2 separate regions of the Homo sapiens genome follow, and region 1 is linked to region 2. The links are contacts of gene promoters, found by promoter capture Hi-C in blood cells and fetal thymus (Javierre and others, 2016). All regions are on one chromosome and are shown on one strand. The core of a region is centred on a gene start or on the middle of the fragment in contact, and the rest is flanking DNA. Distances in the headings are between cores, read along the strand shown.

The links. The method cuts DNA at HindIII sites, captures the fragments that hold promoters and counts their contacts. A CHiCAGO score of 5 or more calls a contact.
Region 1: a fragment that was not itself captured here is called in contact with the fragment with the promoter of FBXO34 in region 2 in 1 of 17 cell types (fetal thymus); the score reaches 8.2 in fetal thymus.

The regions. Positions count from the first base shown.
Region 1 is chr14:56,120,101-56,125,154 of GRCh38, forward strand. All of the region lies in intron 1 of PELI2 (pellino E3 ubiquitin protein ligase family member 2), which reads left to right. Among named protein-coding and RNA genes, the nearest start is that of PELI2, 4.2 kb to the left of the region's middle. The HindIII fragment of the contact is 2,434 bases long and covers 1,115-3,548 here.
Region 2 is chr14:55,269,426-55,274,314 of GRCh38, forward strand. FBXO34 (F-box protein 34) reads left to right here and starts at 1,996. Exons shown (of 2, transcript NM_017943.4): 1 at 1,996-2,112. It overlaps FBXO34-AS1 (FBXO34 antisense RNA 1), which reads right to left and starts at 2,653. Exons shown (of 2, transcript NR_184222.1): 1 at 2,457-2,653. RefSeq lists a silencer at 2,048-2,547. The HindIII fragment of the contact is 2,090 bases long and covers 1,429-3,518 here.

The sequences.
Region 1 (5,054 bases), core at 1,082-3,581, 850 kb after region 2:
CTGTTTGCAGATAAGTGTTTTTCTCACCTACATCTTAATTGCACTTCAAAGACAAATATCAGGGTTCACAGGAAGGCGGGAGGAATGACAGGAGAAAAGCCGCAGTTTAGTCTGTCTTATGTAACTTCAGCCCAACCTAATCTTGTGGAGTTTGGTTTTGTTTGTGTGGCTGGCTTCAGTGTGTTTAACACTGTGAACTTGACGCGGAAGATTAACGTATGCCAGAACTTTATTTCATTATTTCCTTTTGAGGAAATCATTGTTGAGATGTTTCAGAAAAGCAGCGAGTGGGCCTGGAGAGGTTTTGTGTTCATAGCTGGAAGTGCAGGGCATTCCGAAGCCACGGAAAGGATTGAAACCCTGGATTGTCCTAGTATCATAGTCTCACTCCACAGGAGCCCGGGATATAACGTTGCAGTTGCATATGGTCTGCCCTTTGCTAATGCTTTTCCAGGAGACCAAAGTATGACATAGTTGGCACTTAGGGGGCGAGACACTCAACCGTCGTTTGTGTACCTACTCTGTGCCTGTGCTGTTTAGGCATTGCTGATGCAGTGAGAACAGGGAACTTTCCTTTTAGAGTGGAGTGACAGGCATAAACAGAAAGAAACATGCAAATAGAGGAGTAATAAGTGACAATTTCAGGTGCAGCCAAGTTCTGAAGAGGAGTTGATAAACTTGGAGAGTGACTGCTTAGGTGGGTATTGGTTTCTTCGGCTGGAAGGTGAGGGAAGTTCTCTCTGAGGAGGTGAAATGTGAGTAGAGGATGCTAGTCTGGTTTTTGAATACTTGAATTGTGGTATTTTTCTTTTTTCGAGGGTAGGTTTCTGACTGTTTACCAATGTTGAACACATTGAAGAGTGCAGGTGAAAGAGTGACTAGGTAGGAAGATTTTTAGAGAGAACCTTATTCATATTCCACCCTTAGGATTTGAGACAGTGTACTTCATCTTAAAACAACAATAACATTCACATAGAATTAATATCATCTTTATGATATTATCTTTATGTCCTCTGGGGTATAAATATTGGAAAACAGAAAATTTCAAGTAGATTTTCTGAATAATGAGATGATTCCTGAGATCTAAAAATGCCTAATATTTGGTATTGATAGAAGCTTTGCTTGTCAAATTCAGTGCTTTTTTTTTTTTTAATGGTTATGTGACTGTCCTTTTTGCTCACTTTCGAATGTCATAGTGAAACATTACTAGGAAATCCTGGAGAGCAGAATGAAGAGCTGATAGATGTCTATATCCATATCTAAATACTTCTATATCTTTTTGTGTGTTACACAGTATTATTAAGAGATTCCACATAGCTAGGATTTTAGTGAGCTCATCACTTTCTGGGCTGATTAGTGGAATTTAATTATTTCATGATTCCAGCCAGTTAATGTATCATAGCCACAACTCTTTGTTGTGTCCACTACTTAACTGAAGGTAGAGAAAAATGACTGGTCTAACCAGCAGGTCTTTTTGCTATAATTTTAAACTTACGTTTTAAGGTTAGGGAAGTGGCTCAGGATTTGAGAGGCAGTTTGGTATAGTGGGAAGAACATGCATTTACAGGTGGGTGACCTGAATAAGCCCTTCTCTCTTGCTGACTGGCTCTGTGACTTTGGCTTAATTCCTCCTCCTCCTCTCTGTTTCTTTATCAATTTGCAAAATATGATTGGATTAGGTAGGCTTCAAGAGCCCTTCCTGGTCTGTGCTCAGTAATTCTGTTCATTGGCGCAAATGTAGAAACTATTTAGTTACATATTCTAAGTTCCCTGACAGTTGTTTTAATAGCAGAAAAGATCAATGCTGTGGTTGTTTTTTATGAAGATGTGCGTAAAAACAGAATGTTTAAAAAAGTTGTAATGATATACATCTGTTTGACTCATTGGTGTTAGGTTACCCATGGGAGCATTTAAATTGTGTAAAACTTTATGTTCCAAGTTTAAGAAAGACAGTGATGTTTTGAAATTTAGCTAAATAGACTGAAATAACCAGCATAAAGAGGAGATGATCTCATGATAAAAATTTAGAACTGAATAGCATTAGGGGAAATTCCTAATGTAGATGATGGGTTGATGGGTGCAGCAAACCACTATGGCACGTATGTACCTATGTAACAAACCTGCACATTCTGCACATGTATTCCAGCCTTAAAGTATAATAAAAAAAAATTAGGACTGGAAGGGGGCCTAATGGTCATGGTATATGTTTAGCCCTTATATTTTATTCTTGAGGACACAGGCTCCCAGAACAAGAGAGGTTCAAGTTCATAGTTGATCTGGGCTGAGCTGGGTGGCTGTACTCCCCTACTCTACCCTTTCCTCACTTTAAGACAGATTCCAGCAGCGCTGTCAGTTCCTCAAAGCATCCTTTCTGGATTCAATTTGAAGCATGTGGCTCTCTTGCTGACTAATGGCCCATGGTGGTTTTTGGAAAAATATTGCTTACTCTCTTAGTTCCTCTCACCTCACAGTTGAATGGATAATGCATTTTGCAAGACTTTTTTTTTTTCTTTTGATGCTTCACAAAATGTATTTTTATTGGCTCTCTCAACCAAGGGTTCTTAACCTAGGGTCCACAGATGGAGTTCGGGACATTCTTGAACTTAGATGGGGGAAAAACATGTCTTGATTTTCATGATATTCAAACTGCAGTTTAGCATTTTCATTCACTTATGAGTGTAGGCAACAAAAAGACTTGCTGCTAGATTTTGTTATTTAATGCATTATTACAGAAGTGCACATGTGTATAGCAATTTAAGACTTTTGATATTTAAGTATAAGTGATTCCAATTGTAATCCTTTGTATTTTATTTTGTATGTTTAAAAACATTAGTCTGAGAAGGGCTCATTACATGTCATCAAACTGCCAAAGGGATTCTTGGCACAAAAAGAGGGTAAGAACCTCTACAAATGAAAATTTATAAATATGACTAAATATGACTGAAAAATGAAGTATTTTAGTAGAAATTGATAAGCTCTACAAAAGGAGGTAGATACCTGCCTCATTTCCTTTGGATGATTCAGTGTTTTGTTAGGTAAGACAAAGAGGGGTATAGTAGCTTGTAGAGTTTATGGTCTTTTTTTTTTTTTTAAAAGCAGGTCCCACTTTCTGTATGCTTTTTGTTGTTGCTGTAACCTCAGCACTTTGCCTTGACTACTCCACCCTTTGGTGGCAATAAGAAACCTTCAAATATACCCTAACACTTTTCCTTTTCTCATCCTCCACTCTAATTTGGGCCCAAAGACATCAAACATTAGTATCTTTTATAGACTAAAAGGTCTTTGAACTTTAAAAAAATTTATAAAACAAAATCTTTACTGTAGCTCAGCATGTGGGGTGATCTGAAGAGCTCAGATCTGTTTGTGTGGATGGAGTGTCTAATTCTGTGGGCTATTAAGGGTTACGGTGTTACTGGCTTTGAGTTGCTATATTTTCCTTTACTAACTTTAGCCTTGTTTGGAATATGTGGCTGTCTGTGTTGCTGTGTGGTTTCTGGTCTGGCTTTCTCAGATTTATTTATTTCTCTCTTTAACACACCAAGACTGAAAGCTTCATTAGGTCTTTTCATTTCTGGTTGTGTTTCATCCTGTGATCAATATTTGGGGATGCTGTGTATAAATGAAAGTAAAACAGGCTTGATTCAGGTTCAGTAATTTTACCAAACATTTTATCGAAAAGATAAAATACTTATGCACAAAGGACCAAAACAAAACAAAATAGCCGTTGCTATATTTGAGGAAGACCAATATTGTCACATTGGAGCACTGGTTTTATATCTGCTGTGCAGGGCTTGCAGTGTGGCCTTCCTGAAAGTAGGTATATGGGGTTGTAGGTTGGCTTTTGAATGGAGACAACAGCAACTTGGTAGACCTCATTGGTATGGGAGAAAAATAACTGTGAAAAGGAATTTATAATGTCTTTTGATTTAATTAAACGTTTCTCCTGGGGTGTGCAGAAATCTATTTTATAAAAAGAAAAGTAAAGGTTAGAATAATTCAGTTATTAGTTCTTACTGAGCTTATTGTCACCTTCATCTTCTGGAAAATAAAATAATAAGAGCAGAAAGTGCTTCATATTTCTTAGCTTTGTCTAAATCACCTGTTCTCAACCACTGTCTCAAGTACCTCATATGTGATGATCAGTCTTGAGGGTATGTGGCCAGTAATTTATGACAAGTAATAAAGTGTGGATCTTTCAAATGATTCAGATATGTCATGTTAATAATGTCATTTTTCACCCTTTTGCATTCTGATGTGTTTTCTCAAGTGGGAGAGAAAGGGGTGGAGTTACATCAGGCAAGCCAGGAATGTATGCATTCAGCAAATATTTATTGGCTGTCTACTCTTCCAGGCATGAGGAATACAGCTAGGACAAGGCAGACACATTCCTTTTCCTGGTGAACTGCTCTCTTATTTTTGTCCCAGCCTCTTTGTGAATAACCGTTACTGATACATGGTTCATTTATTTATTCCCCAAATATTTGAGCATCTGCCACTTGTCAGATGCTGTGGATTGCACTAAGGGATACGCAGATGAACAAGACAGTCATGGTCCCTGCTGCTGCAGCACTGACAGCCTAGCTGGAAGACCTGAAGGCTGGGATGGTGGATGTGTTAGCAGGGTCCCCTAGCCATGTGCCAGGATGAGATGGGGATGACCACGATGGAGATAAGAGGGAAGGAGTGCTTTCCGAAGAAGGTTTGGAGTATTCTGCAACCTAGAGATGAAAACGTGCAGCTACTTTGAGGAACAGAGAAACACTCTTTATGGCTAGGAAAGAATGATTGAATGAAACATTGTGAGGGATGATGATGGGGGGATATCATGAAGGGCTTATAAGATATTGGAAGGGGTTTGGACTTTACCCTAAGAGCACAGGAGACTGTCTCAGGGTTTTGCTAGTATGAGATGGGAGTGAAGAAAGCCCTCTGCTCTTTGCAGAGTGGAGTTGGAAGGCACAGTGGAGTTGGAAGGAGAAACTGAGGCTGCAGCCCAACAAGGCAGAGAGAGAATGGAGTGTGAGCTAGAGGGCAGCTGTCTTGCTTCTAGTTCC
Region 2 (4,889 bases), core at 746-3,245:
CTGGGCAACATAGTGAGACCCTGCCTCAAGAAAAAGATGAAAAAATATAATAATTAATAGTTCGGGCTTTTATTATGTCTTTTAAAATTAATTTCATTTTTATATCAATTTTTTGAGTCCTCTAATCAACAGGAATCAAGTTTTGTTTGTTTTTTTTTTTTTTTTAGATGGAGTCTCACTCTTGTCGCCCAGTTAGGAGTGCAGTGGTGTGGTCTCAGCTCACTGCAAACTCCACCTCCCAGGTTCAAGCGATTCTCCTGCTTCAGCCTCCCAAGTTGCTGGGACTACAGGCGTGCCCTGCCACACCGGGCTAATTTTTGTATTTTTAGTAGAGATAGGGTTTCACCATGTTGGCAAGGCTGGTCTTGATCTCCTGACCTCAAATGATCTGCATGCCTTGGCCTCCCAAAGTGCTTGGATTACAGGCGTGAGCCACCATGCCCAGAAGGAATCAAGAGGTTTTAAGAAGGACAGTGTTTGAGATGAATCTGAAAGGATAAACTGAAGTTTTACAATTTTGAGCTAACTATGACATAAAGAAGCTTCAAATGATCATGATATATTGAGCTAATATTGCTCACATATTAAATCAGACATACAGTTTGATGCCACGGTGTACCATATAACACCCTTCCTTAATTTTTTTTTTCCTTTTTGAGATGTGAGCCACCGTGCCTGGACTTCCCCTCTCCAATTTTTATTAAAAATATGTATATAGATAAAGGTCTAGATGGAGATACTGAGTGGTTATTTCTTGGTGATGAGATTATGGGAAATATTTTTATTTTGTTTTTACGTTTTAATATTTAAGATTTTACACATATATTTTACAACAGTAGTTTTATAATTGGACAAAATTATTTTTGTTAAGGACTGGCTAAAATCAAAGTTGCTGGTTTAAGTGTAACTTGGTACAACCTTTTAAAAATCATTTGGCAGTTTGTATTAGTAACTGTGAAAGTGTTGATAGTCTTTTTCACCTAGTAATTTCACTTTTGGGTATCTTTAAAAATCTACATTCATGAAGATGTTCTATGATTTCTTTATAATGGCAAAAAGTGAATGAAGGAAACAAGTTATGTCCAAAAATAGAGAATTACTGCAGTAAATTTTATGTCCACTTAATGTAATTTTATGCAGCTGTTAAACTGGTTATGAAGCTTATGTGGAAATATGAGGAATGCTTATAAAAGTGAAAAGAGGATGCAAAATCGCGTACAACTACTATTACAGTGTAGTAAAATATATGTGATGGGGCAAAAGGTCTAGAAGAAAATACATTGTCCTCATGTTTTTCAATGTGGTTAATATTATTTTCACAATGAAAACAATAATAAGCTTAAAGATTGGGAATCAAAAGTTCCTCACTGGCCCTCTGATTTGAATATAAAGTGTTAAAAATTTATATCCATCATTAACCAGCCCTTAAGCTTCTACAGACTTTAACAGTTTCGTGTCAGCCTCAACGTTTATCTACTTTCTGACCGGTATCCCTGCCATGATTTTCATAGGAAAGAGAGTCAGAAGGGACCTTTCCAATTTTGTCATTTTACAAATTGAAACTCTGAACCCCAGCCTTCCAAGCTAGCAGCAGAACCAGTATGAGGATCCAGGTCTACTAGGTTATCTAATAGTATCTGAGACCATTTACAGCTTCAGGTCCACCCACGAATATTCATAAACTTGACATGTCTGCTGATTGAACCCTGGCGTCACTACCCTTCTTGGCTGGCCTGGGAGGTTTGATTCCTTTCCCTACAGTCGTGCTCAAACTTTCATTCTCTACCACTTGGGGGCCGCAGACGCGTCATCCAGGTCTCCCTTTTCACTTCCCCCTTCCCGCCCCCAGTGTCCGGCAGGGGGCGCCGTGAAACTCTGGATCCGTGGCCCCTCCCCCGGCCAACCGTCGATTGGGCCGGCGCGTGACGTCACTCCGTTTTAGCCAAACAAATGGGTTTCGGGGCGAGCGTTGGGCGCCGCCGCGCCGCGCTGGGTGCTCGGTCCGACTCAGCGGTGGGGAGTGAGCCAGGCCTCCCGCCACCGCTGCTGCCGCCACCACTGCGTCGGGCTGGTGCAGCCCCGGGCCAGGCCGCGGCCGGGGCAGGAGCGCAGGTGGGTCCGGGCCGAGGTGGGGCGTGGCGCGAGGGCCGCGCGACTGGGGTCCGGCGGCGGCCACCGTGGCCGCTCCCCGCCCCCTACCGCCGCCTGCCTGCGCTCCCGGGGCGCGGGGCGGGTGGGGGTGGGGGCGGGGGCGCCGCCCGCGGGTCCGGGGTAGGGACCCGGCCGCCTGCGCCTCCTCCGGTGCGGCTCTTTCCGCGCGCACGGCCCGGGCGCTGAGCGTCCCCGCGGGCCACGGAGGGTCGGGCGGGTAGGGAGCGGGGTCCTGGGTCCCCGCTGAAGCCGAGGAGATTCACGGATAGGCCGTGAGCTTGCACCGGACCGGCGCTCCCACTTACGGGACCCAGGGCGGTGAGGAAGTCAGCCTCTGGACTGGGGTCGCCTCGCCCCTGTCGCGCCCTCCCGGGCTCGGCCACTCTGCCCTTCCCTGCCCCAGCGCAGGTGAGCTGGCGCTTGTCCTTAACCTTCTTCAACGACGAGGCGGGACGGAGGCTCGGACGCCTCCCCAGCCTCTGGGCTGGCGCAAGTCGACTGCGGTTCGTCCTCAGTCCACGATGAAGTCATAGGGCTGTGGGTCCGTGTGTCTGTGACGTCAGAAGATGGGTCCTGGGATGTCACTGCAGGCCCGGGCGGGGACCTGGGCTCACGGAAGGGCCGGGGGGACCCGCAGGGTAGAAAAAGGAAGTTGTCTTCCACGAACGCTTGGAATCGCAGTGGATTTGAATCGAAAGTTGTTCGGTATCAGCATTTTGCAATTTTAATGTAATAGTTGTCAATTTCTTTAACTTCTTGTCCAGCAAGCGTTGCGAGTACAGCTCAGTATAAGACATTTGATTTAGAAAAACTTAAGTCAGGGTAGGAGGTTTTTTGGAGGGTGTAATGTAAAAAGCCTTTTAGGAAGCTAAATTCGTAGTTTGATAGTTTGCAATCAGAATTACTGAAAAAAAAGAGAACCACTTCTAGTGTTGATAAATCAGTTTGCTTTTTTTTTTTTTTTTTAACTGGACATCTATCTGCTTGTTAGCATTTTTTGTTAGAAAATGGCCAGGAGGAGGGAGAGTGGATCTTACATGATTTTTTTTTTCTGTTGTAAAGGGAGGGAGGAGTTTGAATTAATCCAACATTTGTCTTAAATAATAATTACCTGAGGAGTTAATTTATCCAGGTTGTCCCTATCCCACCCTATGGTACCATGCTACCACCCCATGCTACCATGGTTTAGAAGTCAGCAACAAGCTGTTTTCTTGCTTTCTTACTGAGACCCGGCTATAACTTAATATAAAAACATATTCCAGGACCGCTTGTCTGGATAGGTAACTAAAATTTTGTCTGTAGTGCTTTTAAATATGAAATTAGAGAATAAAAAAATGATTTGTCTGTGAATACTGTTTTTCTTCCAAAGCTTTCAGAAGAGATCTAACTGGAAGAGAAGCTAGTCACTTTGTCATAGTGACCCTCTTCGGGTATTCCAGCATATCAGTACTTTTCATTTCCTCCTCTGTAGAATAATGTAAATGGAATCTAGTTCAAAAGGTAGATGGCTTAAACTTGAAGCATAGTTAGTCTTTAGCAGGAAGCTTGGGTAGAAGTCCTTAATCCTTCCTCACTGACCTTGACTTGTAATGGTACGGTTTTTTTTTTTTCCTCTCTCTCAATACTTCCTGCTCCCCATTTGCCTTTTAGAGGTGATTGATAAGATACTGTCTCTCTGGGTTTTACATCAACATGCAGATGGAAGTTATGCCCATTTTCAGGCAGGAAATAAAAGCAAAAATTTACCCGTTAGGTACTATTGGATTTGACTGGAAGTTCACAAAACAAGGCTTTCCTGTACATGTTATTTTGATCCTCACCACAACCTTGGGAATTTGACAGCATTGTGTGCGCTACTGAAAGTTGTTCTGGTTTTTTCTTCCTTCTTTTAAGAAATGAGGAATTTTATGCTGACAGTGTTGAGTGAAGTCTCTAAAGATACAATTTTGTATACAAATTATTTTTCGTATGTACAAATTTTGTATACAAAATTTTGTATGAAAGATACACATTTGAGCCTTTGGATCACCAGAGACTGAGAGGCACTTGAATTATTATGCAACTGCTGATATTGAGAGTGTTAGTCAACCTTTAAGATGAAAGAATCTTGGCAAGATACTATGTAATGCAATTGAAGGAGGTCCAAAATGGACGCTTGCATGTGTCTTTCCCGAGCGGTAGCGATTCTGGGGCCGGCTACACGGCTGTATGTAAGTTAGGTGTACTAGTTTTTTTGTATGTTTTTTTGAAACAGAGCCTCGCTCTGTCACCCAGGCTGGAGTGCAGTGGTGCGATCTCGGCTCACTGCAACCTCCGCCTCCCGGGTTCAAGCGATTCTCCTGGCTCAGCCCCTCGAATAGCTGGGACTACCGGTGCGTGCCACCATGCCCGGCTAATTTTTGTATTTTTAGCAAAGACGGGGTTTCACTGTGTTGGCCAGGCTGGTCATGAACTCCTGACCTCGTGATCCGCCCACCTCAGCCTCCCAAAGTGCTGGGACTACAGGTGTGAGCCACCGTTCTCGGCCAGGTGTGCTAGTATTAATGGGAAAGGATGAAAGTCAGACTAAATAAGAGTTGAAAGACCTGCAGCTGATAAGGAGATACCTGCTATTCGGCAGTGCATTTTTCCTCTCTATTTTGCTTAGCAGTTAGGAAGTTTTTATTTTTCCTCATGGAAAATGAGTTAATAGGTGAAGAATAAATGTCATAGTGCATACTGATGTGACTGAGGGACAA